Regions from separate parts of the Homo sapiens genome. Here all the other regions are linked to region 1. The links are contacts of gene promoters, found by promoter capture Hi-C in blood cells and fetal thymus (Javierre and others, 2016). All regions are on one chromosome and are shown on one strand. Each heading gives the region's core, a stretch centred on a gene start or on the middle of the fragment in contact. The rest is flanking DNA. Distances are from core to core; before and after follow the strand shown.

The links. Contacts are between HindIII fragments. The CHiCAGO score rates a contact against its expected background, and 5 or more counts as called.
Region 2: a contact is called between a fragment that was not itself captured here and the fragment with the promoter of DMKN in region 1, in 3 of 17 cell types (monocytes, neutrophils and naive B cells). The highest score is 7.5, in monocytes.
Region 3: a contact is called between a fragment that was not itself captured here and the fragment with the promoter of DMKN in region 1, in 7 of 17 cell types (monocytes, naive B cells, total B cells and 4 more). The highest score is 11.6, in monocytes.
Region 4: a fragment that was not itself captured here is called in contact with the fragment with the promoter of DMKN in region 1 in 4 of 17 cell types (monocytes, total B cells, activated CD4 T cells and 1 more); the score reaches 6.0 in monocytes.
Region 5: the fragment with the promoter of ARHGAP33 here is called in contact with the fragment with the promoter of DMKN in region 1 in 2 of 17 cell types (neutrophils and erythroblasts); the score reaches 5.1 in neutrophils.

What each region holds. Positions count from the first base shown.
Region 1 is chr19:35,512,227-35,514,926 of GRCh38, forward strand. It overlaps DMKN (dermokine), which reads right to left and starts at 1,423. Exons shown (of 16, transcript NM_033317.5): 1 at 824-1,423; 2 at 364-564; 3 at 195-251. The coding sequence starts at 1,249. The HindIII fragment of the contact is 13,607 bases long and covers 1-2,700 here.
Region 2 is chr19:35,203,508-35,206,311 of GRCh38, forward strand. It overlaps LOC105372379 (a long non-coding RNA gene), which reads left to right and starts at 1,614. Exons shown (of 3, transcript XR_935938.2): 1 at 1,614-1,769; 2 at 2,646-2,804. RefSeq lists enhancers at 1-92, 93-610, 611-1,128, 2,104-2,273. The HindIII fragment of the contact is 3,198 bases long and covers 1-2,804 here.
Region 3 is chr19:35,241,476-35,244,266 of GRCh38, forward strand. No RefSeq gene overlaps it. Among named protein-coding and RNA genes, the nearest start is that of LSR, 6.1 kb to the right of the region's middle. The HindIII fragment of the contact is 3,634 bases long and covers 1-2,791 here.
Region 4 is chr19:35,221,019-35,223,718 of GRCh38, forward strand. No RefSeq gene overlaps it. Among named protein-coding and RNA genes, the nearest start is that of FAM187B, 6.4 kb to the right of the region's middle. The HindIII fragment of the contact is 2,741 bases long and covers 21-2,700 here.
Region 5 is chr19:35,774,068-35,776,855 of GRCh38, forward strand. It overlaps ARHGAP33 (Rho GTPase activating protein 33), which reads left to right and starts at 1,497. Exons shown (of 21, transcript NM_001366178.1): 1 at 1,497-1,597. The coding sequence starts at 1,592. RefSeq lists an enhancer at 989-1,048 and a silencer at 1,279-1,758. The HindIII fragment of the contact is 37,765 bases long and covers 1-2,788 here.

The sequences.
Region 1 (2,700 bases), core at 173-2,672:
ACCTCAGGTGATCCACGTGCCTTGGCCTCCCAAAGTGCTGGGATTACAGGTGTGAGCCACCTCGCCCAGCCCCATCTCTTCCTCTCACCCCAATCCCTCCACTCCCCCATCTTGCTTTCCTCTTTGTCTTTCCCCAGCTCTCTGTAGCCTGCACCCAGTGGCTTCTTCATTTGTTCCCAGCCCCTTCCTCTTACCCCTTCATTCTGGTTGCTGGCTCTCACTGAACCATAGCCAGGCTGGGCCACAGCTCCCTGCAGAGAGGGTGAGACTGAGAGTAGGATCCAGAGGGACCAGGGAGGCACGCGGAGCATGTGGGCTTGGAGGGAGGGAGGTGGCAGGTAGCAGGTCTGGGGGTGACTTTACCTGAGTGTTGGTCCCAAAGTTTGGTGGCCCTCCATTGCCTCCTTGACCCCAGGGAGCTCCCTGAGGATTCATTCCAAAGCTGCCTGCTGAGTTTCCGGGGTATCCGTGGACCCACGGAGTCCCCAGACCTCCAGGATTGCCCTGGCCCTGGCCTCCAAGGCCACCTTGAGAGCCAAAGATGCCATGGCCTCCAGAAGTTTCCTGCAAGAACAACATACCTGCACTTAGTGGGACCATCTCTGACCCTGGTAGAGAAGAGCCAGGGCAAATCATAAAGAGACCAGGAGAGAGACAGGCAGAGGGACTCCAGGGTGGCATAGGAGGGGGGCAGAACATAGAAGGAAGCTGCCCCAGAAGCCTGCAAGTAAGAGATCCATCCATCCTTTCAACCGTTTCCCAAGAATCTCAGCCCAGCAGCCCACAGCCTCCCATTTCCACATGCAGCCCCACAGCCACTCACCCAAGCACCATTGTGGCCAGGCACCCCCTGCCAGGAGCCGCGGACAGCATCTGCTCCGTGTCGAATGACATCTTCTGCCTGTCTGCCAATCTCGTGCCCAGTGTTTCCCAGAGCATGGGCTGCTTCCCCGACCCTGTTGCCCAAAGCATCTGCTACGCCAAAGCCTGGAACCTGCCTGACTCCAGTGCCAACTGCTTCTCTGGTCCCTTGGCCAAGGGCCTCACTGACTTTAGAGCCAGCTGCCCCTCCGGCCTCTTTGCCAATGGCCTTTCCCACCCCTTCGCTCAGGGCGTCTCCCAGGCCATGTCCAAGGGCCTCCCCAATATTTGTCCCAGTGCTTTCCTCTCCGCTCTGCAGGGGGCCAGCCTCCCCACTGCCCAGGCAGAGGGCCAGCAGGAGGCAGGCCAGGGGCCCCTGGAACTTCATCTCTGCCCAGCCCCCTCTCTCTCCAGAGTGTCTTCCTCCCACCAGGGTCTCCTCCTTGCCGCCCTTGCTCTGCGTCTCTGTGCCCTCCTCTGTCCTCCTCCTTCCGACTCCCTGTCCTCCCTCCCTCTGGGTCTGCAGCCTTCTCTCTCCTGTCCTCAACTGCCTGGGCTTCTCAGAGTCCACCTCCCTGTCACTACTCCTTATACTCTAGGTTGGGAGAAGGTGACAGGGCTGGGCAACCTGAGGTCCCTCCCCGCAGTGACTCAGGGCCCAGCCACCAATAGGGTAATCAGCTGTTATTGTGAGTCTGAGAGTCTCTGTCGAAACAGAGAGTGAGCCGCATCAGGGAGGGAGGGAGAAATGGATGAGGTGATGCAAAAGTGCTCCCATTTCCCAACCCCAGGCATTCGGGGAGCTGGGTGGGGGCAGGGGCATCTAAGGAGACAGGTTGTCGTTGGCTCCTGGAGGCGGTGGGGTGGGGGCAGACTTAGAAGAGAGGAGTTACTGGCAGGACCCCACCAAAGGAGTAAGGACAGGGAAGCCCCAGGGGACAGGACCCACCCAGGCTCAGCCAGCCTGGCTCAGGGGCTCCAGAGTGACAGGCATTGCCCGTCCTCGGCCTGGCCTTTCTCGGTTTCAGCACCTCAGCCTCTCCTCTCCCTCTCCCCTCCCGCATTGCCACCTACAGGTGACTGCCTTCTTGTTCCTCCACACCTTCCAGCCCACAGAGAGAGACTGGCAAACACGGGGCTGCGTGTCAGTTTCTGAGATTCTGGGGAGAGCCCCCGGGGGGACCCTCGGTGTCGGGGAAGGAGGTGGCCATAGCCCTTTGAGTGGTCAGCAGGGTGTCTCAGCGTTCAGGCTGCTCCCGGCTGAGAAAGCTGGGCGCGGAGCAGGGCAGCCAGGCGCGCCAGCCACCCCCAGGGAACGAGTGGGAGGGAAGGCCAAGGGAGGGAGCCGCTGACCCAGGCACCCATCCTGTTTACGCAGCCCTAGAGGGGCACGTGTGAGTATAAGCGCCTATGAGGGGCGGGACTGGGCCAGCTCACCCCACCCATCCCCCAGGCCAGGGGCCAGGGCAGCAATGGCAAGCGAGAAGAGGGTAGCGCAAGGTCAGGAGCCATCCGTGAGAGCCACGGCCCTCTCCCCAGTCCCAGCTCGGGATACAGAACCTGGGAGCCTCCCCCCGCCTCACCCCTGCCCAGCAAGTGTGGCTGCTTCTCTATTCCCAGGGGCCACAGGGCCTCCCACTGTTTCGTATCACTGGGGTTCATCGCCCAGTTAGGAGGGGCCAGTTTCCATCAGCCTTTCTCAATGTCTCTCAGTCAGTCTCTCTCTTCTCTCCACCCCAATATCCGCACCCCAGCTTATAACATCCAACACTTCTTACCTTGTAAACACTATCCCCATCTGTCCTCCTCAGCTCCTACTTCCCTGTTATTCCATCTCTG
Region 2 (2,804 bases), core at 224-2,723, 310 kb before region 1:
ACCAGGGTCAGCTTGGAATTTGGGATCTGATTGCCATAAAGAGTCTACTCTGTCAGTCCTGTGATCTGTATTTTAATGTTAATGTTGGTCAGTTGGGCCTAAACTCCAGAAGGGAGGGGCTAGAATGAGGCATGTGCACCTCCCATTTCTTCATGGCTAGAATTCAGTTGTTCAGATGTCTCTGGGGTCCCTTTGGCCCAGAAGGGGGTCCACTTAGTTAGTTGGGGGGCTCAGGATTTTATTTTTGGTTCAAAGTATATATTCTAGGTTGTGATGTCAAATGACTCTCTTACAGTTAACAACAAAAGTGTGAAAGCTACTGTGGTTGATAGCAATATCCTTTGGTTTAGTAGCTTTGTTTTATTTTCCATGTTATTACTTGGAAATTCTTTTCCCCTGGACCCTCCTAAGTCTCTGTCTCCTATCCCCCAGAGACCTAAAGGGTGAAGACACTGAGCTTCCAGATTTGAGGGCAGGAGAGTCCTAGTGAGGCCTGGCTTGGAGGCCAGGGAACTTCCTATTCCAGTCTGCAATGTTACCCTTCAATCTCCAGCTCCCCTGGCTGTTGGTGCCCACCCCAGAGTTGTGGAAGCCCTTTCAGTCTAGCTGCCCCACTTGGTGACAGCATGGGCAGGGCAGGACAGGGAGCATCATGGGGTTCATGCTTTCTGCCGTCCAGCCTCCCTACATGCAGGGCGATGGCCCCTAGCTGACCCTTGAGAGCTGAGGGGAGGCTAGGAAGAGGGTTAAAGGCGAAGCCAGACCCAGGCCATTACTGAAGTCACATGGCCTGCCAGGAAACCCCTGTCTATATTGTAGCTGGTTGAACTAATTATATTATAAATACTTTTCCATTTTCTGCCTAGAACCATGCTCTAGACATCTGCATGAGGTCATTAAACCTGCACCACAGCCATGCACACACACGTGTGTGTGTGTGTGTGTGTGTAAAAGACAGACATGAGGTATAGAAGAGCAATATAGAGGTCTCCATATTATGGGGGAACAGACAGTCCCAGAGCAGGGAGGTCACTTGAACAGGGTCACAGAGGCAGGAGGCCACGAACCTGGCTGGACACTGCAGGGCCAAGCAGGTAAACACTGTGCCTGACTCGCACCCAGACTTCGCAACAACCCTAGAATATTCATAAGTCAGTAATAATAGTGTTACAGGAAAGGAGTCCCGATCCAGACCCCAAGAGAGGGTTCTTGGATTCCCACAAGAGAGAATTCAGGGCAGGTCCATAAAGTGAAAGCAAGTTTATTAGGAAAATAAAGGAATAAAGAATGGCTACTCCATAGACAGAGCAGCCCCGAGGACTGCTGGTTGCCCATTTTTATGGTTATTTCTTGATGATATGCTACACAAGGGGTGGATTATTCATTTCTCCCCTTTTTAGACCATAGAGGGTAACTTCCCGACATCGCCATGGTATTTGTAAACTGTCATGGCGCTGGTGGGAGTGTAGCAGTGAGGACGACCAGAGGTCACTCTCGTGGCCATCTTGGTTTTGATGGGTATTATCTGGCTTCTTTATTGCATCCTGTTTTATCAGCAAGGTCTTTATGACCTGCATCTTGTGTTGACCTCCTATCTCACCCTGTGACTCAGAATGCCTTAACCATCTGGGGATGCAGCCCAGTAAGTCTCAGCCTCATTTTACCTGGCCCCTACTCAAGATGGGGTTGCTCTGGTTCAAACGCCTCTGACAGGGTGACAACTGTGACCACAACAGATTCACAAACATGACATTTTCAGAGAGAGGAAGGTATGCAGGGTGGTGTGATTTGGAAGAGGCTGTGGGCGTAGAGGGATGGGTAATTCAGTTGGGGTGGTCAGGGAGGGCTGCTTGGTGGAGGGGACTCTTGGCTGAGACCTGAGGGCTGTGAAGTTCTTAGAGAAGGGTGTTCCAGGCAGAGGGAACAGCAAGCACAAAGGCCTGAGACGAGAGCTAGCTTGGTATGCAAGAGGAACAGAAAAGAGGAAGTGAGAGTAAGGCGGGGGAGGGAAGGGGCAGGGAATGGAGGCTGTGGAGAGGGGAGGGTTTCCAGGCAGCCCAGGACCCTCAAGGAGAGAAACGTTGGATGTAGTCTCCCAGGTAGGGTCCATCTGGCCCTTCCTCCTGGCTCCTGCGGAGTCCGAGTGGCTCTTTCCCTCCTTCCCTCCTCTCCCCTCCTCCTTCTCTCCCTCTCCATTTTCCCTGCAAGGTCTGCAGCCCAACTCCAGCTCTCCCATTACTACAGGGGCTGGTGGGTCCTTCTGAGCAAGAAGATGGGGCTCTTTGTCTACAGTGTCTGTCTATAGTCATTCACCCACTCATTCATTTAATCATTCACTCATTCATTCATTCATTTAGCCACTCATTTGTCAAATATTGATTTTTCTCAGGTGTTTTGCCCTCACAGGTCCTGCCGCCTAAAACACTGACTTCTTATCTCTCAAGGCTTTGCTTTCAACACTGTCTCTTCCAAGACCTCTCCCTGACCACTCCCAACTTACTAAACCCCTATCACCCTGTTAGCTTTTGAATGCTCTTCATGGTAAAACAGGACAGGTTGATGCTCTCCGGGGCTCTCTCTACACACAAGAGAGAGATTAGCCTGACGGGCATTCGTTTACCCTTCTCATTTTCTTTGGGAACCAGCCTCCCCTGCTCTTAGTCTATGTGATTCGGACACAGCCAACTACATTTCCCAGATCCAGAAATGAACACGCCATTCCAAGTAAAGCCAATGAGAGACAGCTGCAGGACTTTTGCTGGAACTATTGGGAAAGTGGTGTTTCTTTTTCTGCTATGGTTACT
Region 3 (2,791 bases), core at 219-2,718, 270 kb before region 1:
CAGAAAATGCAAAAAGGAACCAAAAGGAAAATTCTGGAGCTAAAAATACAATTAACTGAAATAAAAAATTCACTGAAGGGGCTCAAAAACAGATTTGAGCAGGCAGAAGAAAAATCAGCAAACTTGGTGACAGGAAAATTTATTGAGTCTGAGGGACAGGAAGAAAAAAGATTAAAGAAAGCTGAACAGAGCCTAAAGGATCTGTGGGACACCACAGAGGAGACCAACATACATATTATGGGAGGTCCAGAAGGAGAAGAGAGAGAAAAAGAGGAAGAAAGAATTGTAATTTTAAGAAATAAGATTGAAAACTTCCCAAATTTGATGATAGACATGAATCAACAAATCTAAAAACTCAATAAACTCCAAGTATGAAAAACCCAGAGATTCAAGCTGAGACACATTATAATCAAACTGTAAAAAGCCAAAGCCAAAGAAACAATCTTGAAAGCAGCAAGAGAGAAGCAACTTGTTACATTCAAGAAATCCTCAATAAGATTATTGGCAGATTTATCATTAGAAACCTTGGATGCCAAAGGCAGTGGGTTAATACACTTGACATGCCAAAAGAAGAAGAAGAAAAAAAAGACCTATCAACCAAGAATTCTATAGCTACCCAATCTATCCTCCAACAATGAGGAAGAAGTTCAGATATTCCTGGATAAACAAAAGCTGAGGGAGTTCATTACCACTAGTCCTTCCCTACTAGAAATGCTAAACGAAGTCCTTCAGGTTGAAATGAAAGAGTGCAGACAGTAATTTGAAGACATGAAGAAAAAAATTAAAATCTCTGCTAAAGGTAAATACATGAGCAATTATAAAAGCTACTGTTATCATAATTTGAGTTTATAATTTCACTTTTTATTGTCTACATGATATAAAATAAAATGGATGAAAACAATTATTAATCTTCATTATTGGGAAAACAATGTATATAGGTGTGATTTGTGACACTGACAACAGAAAAGGAATGACAGAGGCCAGGTATGGTGGCTCATGCCTGTAATCCCAGCACTTTGGGAGGCAGAGGCAGGTGGATCACTTGAGGTACCTGAGGTCAGGAGTTCAAGAGCAGCCTGGCCAACATGGCGAAATCTCATCTCTACTAAAAATAGAAAAATAAAATTAGCCGAGCATGGTGGCAGACACCTGTAATCCCAGCTACTGGGGCGGCAGAGGCAGCAGAATTGCTTGAACCCAGGTGGCAGAGGCTGCAGTGAGCCAAGATTGCACCATTGCACTCCAGCCTGGGTGACAGAGCAAGGCTCCATCTCAAAAAAAAAAAAAAAGAAAGAAAAAGGAAAAGGAGTGACAGAGCTATATAAGAGCAGAGTTTATATATATACTATCGAAATTAAGCTGGTATAAATGTAAATTGGAGTATTATAATTTTAGGTTTTATATATAATATAATCTCCTCTATAACCACAAAATAAAAAGCTACAAAATATACACAACTGGAAATGAAAAGAGAATCAAAACATTTCGCTACAAAAAAAAAATTAAACATAAACAGTAATGGAGAAAATGAGGGACAAAAAGCCATAAGGTATATAGAAAACAAGTAGCAAAATGGCAGTAATTTTGCTGATAGTCATTTCTTTAAATCAAGATGGAGATTTCCAGAATGTATTTTTAAAAACCACCCAACAATACGCTGTCTATAAAGGATTCATGTTAGATCCAAAGGCACGAATATGTTCAAAGCAAAAGATATGGAAAATGATATTCCATGCAAACAGTAACCAAAAGATAGCTTGAGTGGCTATGCGAATATCAGACAAAATAGACTTTAAATCAAAACAATTTACAAGAGACAAGACAGACATTACAAATTAATAAAAAGTTAAATATCTCAATAAGATGTAACAGTTATAAACATTTCTGCACCTAATAACAGACCTCAAAATATAAAGCAAAAATTGATAGACTCAAAGGAGAAATACACAGTTCTACCATAATAGTTGGAGAGTTCAAAATCCCACTTTCAATAATGGATAGAACACACAGACAGAAAGTAAGTAAAAATATAGTGGACTTGAACAACACAAAAACCAACTAGACCTAACAGATACATATGGAACACTCACCCAATTAAAAAAAAAATCCAAGTACACATGAGACATTCTCTATGATAGATGACATGTTGAGGCATAAGTTAAATCTCAGTAGATTTTAAAATACCTATCAAACGAACTCTTTTCTTTGATCACAACAAGATAAAGTTAGAAATCAATAATAGAAGGAAAAATGAAAATTCACAAATATGTGAAAATTAAACAACATTCTCTTAAACAACCAACAGGTCAAAGAAGAAATCACAAAGGAAATCAGAAAATACTTAGGGACAAGTAGGAAAGAAAACAAAATATACCAAACTTATGAGATGCCCCAAAAACAGTGCTCAGAGGGAAATTAATAGCTATTAATGCCCATGTAAAAAGAATAACTATCTCAAATTAATAACCTGACTTACATCTTATGGAACTAGAAAAAGTAGAGCAAACAAAACCCAAAGCCAGCAGAAGAAAGGAAATAATAGAGACTAGAGCAGAAACTCATAAAATAGAGAAAGAGAATAGACAAAAAAATCTGTAAAACCAAAAGTTGGTTTTTTGAAAAGATTAACAAAATTGGCAAACCTTTGGTGAGACTGATGAAGCACCAAAGAGAGAAGACGCAAATAACTAAAATCAGAAATGAAAGTGGCAATACCACTAATTTTAAACCACCTAGCAAAGAAAAATCTTAAACCAGATGGCTTCATGAGTTAGTTCAACCAAACATTTAA
Region 4 (2,700 bases), core at 141-2,640, 290 kb before region 1:
GAAGTTAACCTGCAATATAAAGCTTTTATTTTCTCAAAAACCTCATGCCATAGTATTGGCTTGTTGTGCATCTGGCAGCAAACCCCTTTTGCTTGATACTAATGTAAGCAGGAAACAAACCTCTGTGTTTTATTCTGGAGCGTATTTATTGCTGCAGTGGAGCCTATCCTATACTGACTAATACAGAGTAACAAATGAGACTCCTTCAATAGCAGTAGGATTTGCCAAGACAATTTTTTTTTTTGAAATGGAGACTTGCTCTGTTGCCCAGGCTGGAATGCAGTGGTGCAATCTCGGCTCACTGCAACCTCCACCTCCTGGGTTCAAGTGATTCTCCTGCCTCAGCCTCCCCAGTAGCAGGGATTACAGGCACATGCCACCACACCTGGCCAACTCTTGTATTTTTAGTAGAGGCAGGGTTTCACCATGCTGGCCAGGCTGGTCTCGAACTCCTGACCTTGTGATCTGCCTGCCTCAGCCTCTCAAAGTGCTGGAATTACAGATGTGAGCCACTGTGCCTGGCCTGCCAAGACAATTTTATGATGCAGAAAGTATCTGTATTCGGGGTTGTCATGTGGAGTTGTACAAGTTGAGCACTGCCCGACATGTCCAGCCAAGGGATGAGGGGAACCCACTCCATGCTCCACTCACCAGGCCTTTATACAATTTGTTCTAAGGTGACAATTTGTTCTAAGGTGATATAGACAATTTGTTCTAAGGTGACAGCTTTAGAAAGAAAGGGAATATTTTCTCCTTTTCTTTCTCTGGCAGAGTAGAAGAGCCGTATAGCAAGGCTAAGTACTGGAATTGCATTTATAAGCAATTATTTTTTTCCCCAAAAACATAGGCCTAAGAAGTTAAAAAATTACAATAAGAAAAGGAAGAGGGAAGAATAGGATGGTTAAAAATGGAATCTGGGGCGTGTTTTGTCTTACGCTGTACTCTGTTGTGCAGGGGAGGGTGGCAAGGCTGGGCCTGACCATGTCTCCTGCTTGGTGAGGAAAGTTTCTTATTGTACAGCTGGCCACACGCAAAGCGGCTGCTACTCCCTGCTGCAACCTGGGGGGCAACCCACCCTTACCTGTAAGGAACCCCACCTTGTCAGAATCACTTTTTTTTTTTTTTTTGAGATGAAGTCTATCTTTGTTGGCCAGGCTGGAGTACAGTGGCGCAATCTCGGCTCACTGCAACCTCTGCCTCCTGGGTTCAAACAATTCTCATGTCTCAGCCTCCCAAGTGCTGGAATTACAGCTCCGCCACCACGCCTGGCTAATTTTTGTATTTTTCGTATAGATGGGTTTTCACAGTGTTGGCAAGGCTGGTCTCGAACTCCTGACCTCAGGAGAATCGCCATTTTAAGTGGACATCAGGTCATGTCTCTCCACTGCTCAAAACCCTCACGTGGCTCCCATTTCATTTCAAATAAAGCCCACAGCTGCTATCCTGGCCTACAGAGTCCCACACACTCTCGGCCCTGGTGACCTCCTTGATGTTCTCTCCACAGTTGCCTTCCTGTCCTAATCAGCTCCGTCCACCAAGTAGACACCCAGCCCCAGAGCCCTTATATACGCTGCCTGTGCCTGCAACTGCTTGGGGTAGGCTGAATAACACCTCCCAAAGATGTCACTCTAATCCCCAGCACCTGTGAATGTTACCCCTGGGGACCTGCAAGAGGATGTGTAGAGTGTGCCTTACAGGGGTGAGGAAGCTGGGTGCTCCCGTTCCCATCCCTCGAGGTTAAGGACTGCTCCTGGGGTGTCAACTGCCCAGCTTCTAGCCTGCTCCATGAGTGGCCCAGCAGGCTTCTGGTATGAGTTAGGAAACCCCTGGCACCCACTGGAATCATGCCCATGACTGCTAAAGCTGCAGGGGACTTCCAGGTCTTTTCAGGGATATGGGTGAGTGTATTTGTTGTCTGTTGCTGCAAAGCAGATTGCCAGAAATTCAGTGGCTTAAAACAACACACGTCTATGATCTCACAGTTTCTGTGGATCAGGAGTCCAGGCACAGCTTAGCTGAGCCCTCCATCTGAGGTCTCAGAAGGCTGCTGTCAGACACGGATCAGGCTGCACTTTCATCTGGAGGCTCGACTGGGGATGAATCTACTTCTGAGTTCATCCAGGTTATTGGCAGAGTTCGTTTCTCTCTGGCTGTGTGACTGAGGGTCCTGGCCTTTTGCTTGCTGTCAACTGGGAGCCTCCCTCAGGTCCTAGAGGCCACTTGCATCTCCTGGAGGCCACCCACAGCTCCCTACCACGTGGACTTCCTCAATGTGGCTGCTTACTTCATCAAGCCAGCAAGGCTCCCTCCCTCTGATCTTCTAAGACAGAGTCTTAGATAACATAAGGCAAGCTAGGGAGTGACAGCTCAACACCTTTACTGTGTGCTATTGGTTAGATGCAAGGTCACAGGTCTGTCCACACTGGAGGAGAGGGGATCATACAAGGCATGGACACCAGGAGGTGGGAAGTCACTGGGGTCACCTTAGGAGCTGCCCTGACAGCCTTGGAGCACTGGGGCACTGACAGCCTCTGCTATGGGTTGTGAGACTTCAGTGCTGCGAAGAACAAACCCCTTGAGTGTGGGACCCGTGCTTGACTCTCTCTGTCCCACCTCCAGCTCCCATACAATGGGGGCTTCTATGGGTTGCAGGCATTGGGGGGCTCCCTGGGACCTGGGGTGGGCGCTTCAGGTCTCCTT
Region 5 (2,788 bases), core at 247-2,746, 260 kb after region 1:
CTGGGTTCAACCCATTGTCTTGCCTCAGCCTCCCAGGTAGCTGGGATTACAGGCACGCCCGCCGCCACACCTGGCTAATTTTTGTATTTTTAGTAGAGACGGGGTTTCTCCATGCTGGCCATGCTGGTGTCGAACTCCTGACCTCAAGTGATCTGCCCGCCTCGGCCTCCCAAAGTGTTGGGATTACAGGCGTGAGCCACCACGCCTGGCCTAATATTCTATATTTTGTTTAATGTTAATTTTGTTCATTGTCTTCTCCCAGTAGCTTTTGAGCTCCAATGTGGGCAGGGTATATTTTCTCCTGGTTTGGTTGTTGATGTATGTACAAATTGATTAGAGTTTGAGTGAATGAATGAATGAATGAATGAATGAACAGACCAAGACCCTCTGAGATGAGAATTTGTTGAGGGCATGACTAAGGAGAGACCCTCCTGTGAAGGGCGTTATTACAGTGTTATCTGGGCATGCTCAGTATTAGCAGGCTCCATTGGGAATGGCTTTATGGGGGGCATAAGCATGATCTGGCATTTCCCCCTAAGCATTTTCCTAGAAAAAAAAAATCAAGGCTGGAGATTGGCCCGTAATAAGCAGTAGAAGGGGAAACAAGAAAATGTCCAGTGGGCAGGGGAGGCCAAATCGCAGAAAGCCTCGGGTTACGTCCTAGGCAAGGTATATGAGGCAACGAGAAACGTCCATGGGCGGAGCGTCCTCGGCATTATGTGAGCGGGGTCGGGATCAGGACTGAAAAGGTGAGACTTGGGACTGGGACTTTGAAAAGCTGCTTAAGGAACTGGGCACTGCTCTGAGGCCGTGGGAGAATCCAATTAAGACTATCAGGGGCTGGCTGGCGTGGTGGCTCACGCCTGTCATCCCAGCGCTTTGAAAGGAGGCTGAGGAGGGAGTATCTCTTGAGCCCCAGAGATCAAGACCATCCTGGGTAACATAGTGAGACCCCCATGTCTAAAAAAAATTAGCCAGGCGTGGTAGCGCACGCCTGTAGTCCCAGCTACATGGGAGGTATCGCTTGAGCCCAGGAGGTTGAGGCTGCAGTAAGCCACGATTGCAGGACTGCGCTCCAGCCTGGGCGACAGAGTGAGACCCTGTCTCTTAAAGAAATAAAAATAAAAAAGTCAGAAGAATGGACACTGGGAGTGGACGAAAGGTAGGGTCCATTGCTTGGTGTTGGAAGTGTCGGAAGCAAAGCATAAAGAACCTGGGGGCTTGTCTCAGGAGGGCGATGACAGCCAATGAAAAGCAGTCATGGGCGTGGCGCTGTCAAACTTCGAGGGGCGGGACCGAGGACACAGAGCCGGGGCGGAGCCCAAGGTGAAACCAATGAGAAGCCTCCGGGTGGGCGGGGCATCGGCCTAAGGCCAAGGGCGGAGCCAATGAGAAGCAGCGCCGCGTTCCCGCTGCCCCCCGCCCCCGTGGGGCGCGCGCCGGAGCCACGGGCAGCCGTTAGGGGCGGGGTCTGCAGCCGCCCGCGCGCGGCTCGCGCCCTCCCCTTTGTGTCGCCATGGCGGCGGCAGCGGCGACGAGAACGGCGAGCGAGGGGTCGAGCGCGGCCGGGGCCTGAGGAGGCTACGCGACCATGGTGGTAAGGGTCCCACGCGGCCGTCAGCCTGTCCGTCCGGATGTCAGTCTGTCCGTGCGCAGCCCCGCCCCGCGCGCCCCGCCCCCGGCCCCGCCCGATCCCGCGGCCTGTGCTTCAGCCGTGGTCCCTCCCGTCCTGCGGCCCCATCCCGGGTCCCAGCCCGTACCTCGACCCCGCCCCCTAAGCGCGCATCCCCGTCTTCCACGCCCTGGATGGGGTGACAGGGACCTAGGGCCTGGGCTGGGAGGAGGCGGGGCTAGTCCAGGAAGGGACCCGCGCCACCCAAGTGGCCCCTGCAGGGGCCTCCTGAGGCTCCTGGGTCCTTCCCCAGCTCCCATCCCAGCACCTTCCTCGGCATCCTTCTGCCAGCCCTCAGCCCTCCCCGGCGGAGCCCCCTCCTCCTCCCCACAGCCCCTTTCTCATTCCCGAGCCCCACCCCCCACCCGCTCCATCCCCAGCCTGACCCTTTTCTTCTCCTTCTCCCTCATTTTCACCCTATCCCAGTTCCTCTCAATCCCCCCCGCCCCGCATCAGTCTGAGCCTTTGCCTCGTCTCTCCAGCCACTCCTTCCTTACTCCACCCCAACAGGCCAGCACTGTACCTCCCTTGATCCTCGGGTCTGCTCCATCTCCTTGTCCTCATCCCCCTCCCCCACCATTTCCCTCTCCCACCATGCTGCTCCCGCTCATTCATCCATTCATTCCCTCACTTAGCAGACATTCACTGAGACCGCCTCTGTGCAGGCCCCACGCTCCAGGCACAGAGAGAGTCAGCTCCCATCCTGCCTTGGGGAACCTTATGGGCTGGAGGGGGACAGACCCTGAGGGTGAGACCCTGAGGGTGACTGGGGGTTGCAGGGACATGGAGCAGGGAGACGCTACAGCCCAGTGAATCTGTCTGGCAGCTGGTTAATTTATTCATCAGATTTTACCCAGTCCCTGCTGCGCGCGACTGGGCTGGCACTGGGGACCCAGAAAAGAATCAGGAACAATCATGTCTGAACACCAACTCAATGCCCAGCTCTATGCTGGGGAGCTCAGTCTGGGGCCCTCCTTCTGGGAGGCCGGTCATAGTCCAATGAGAGAGATGAACTTGTCACCACCAGTGCCATCTCAGAGTGATCAGAGCTGTGAAGGGAGAAGCTCTGGTCAAGGCATGGAACCTGGGATGGGGGAACCTCAGGGGATGGAGAGA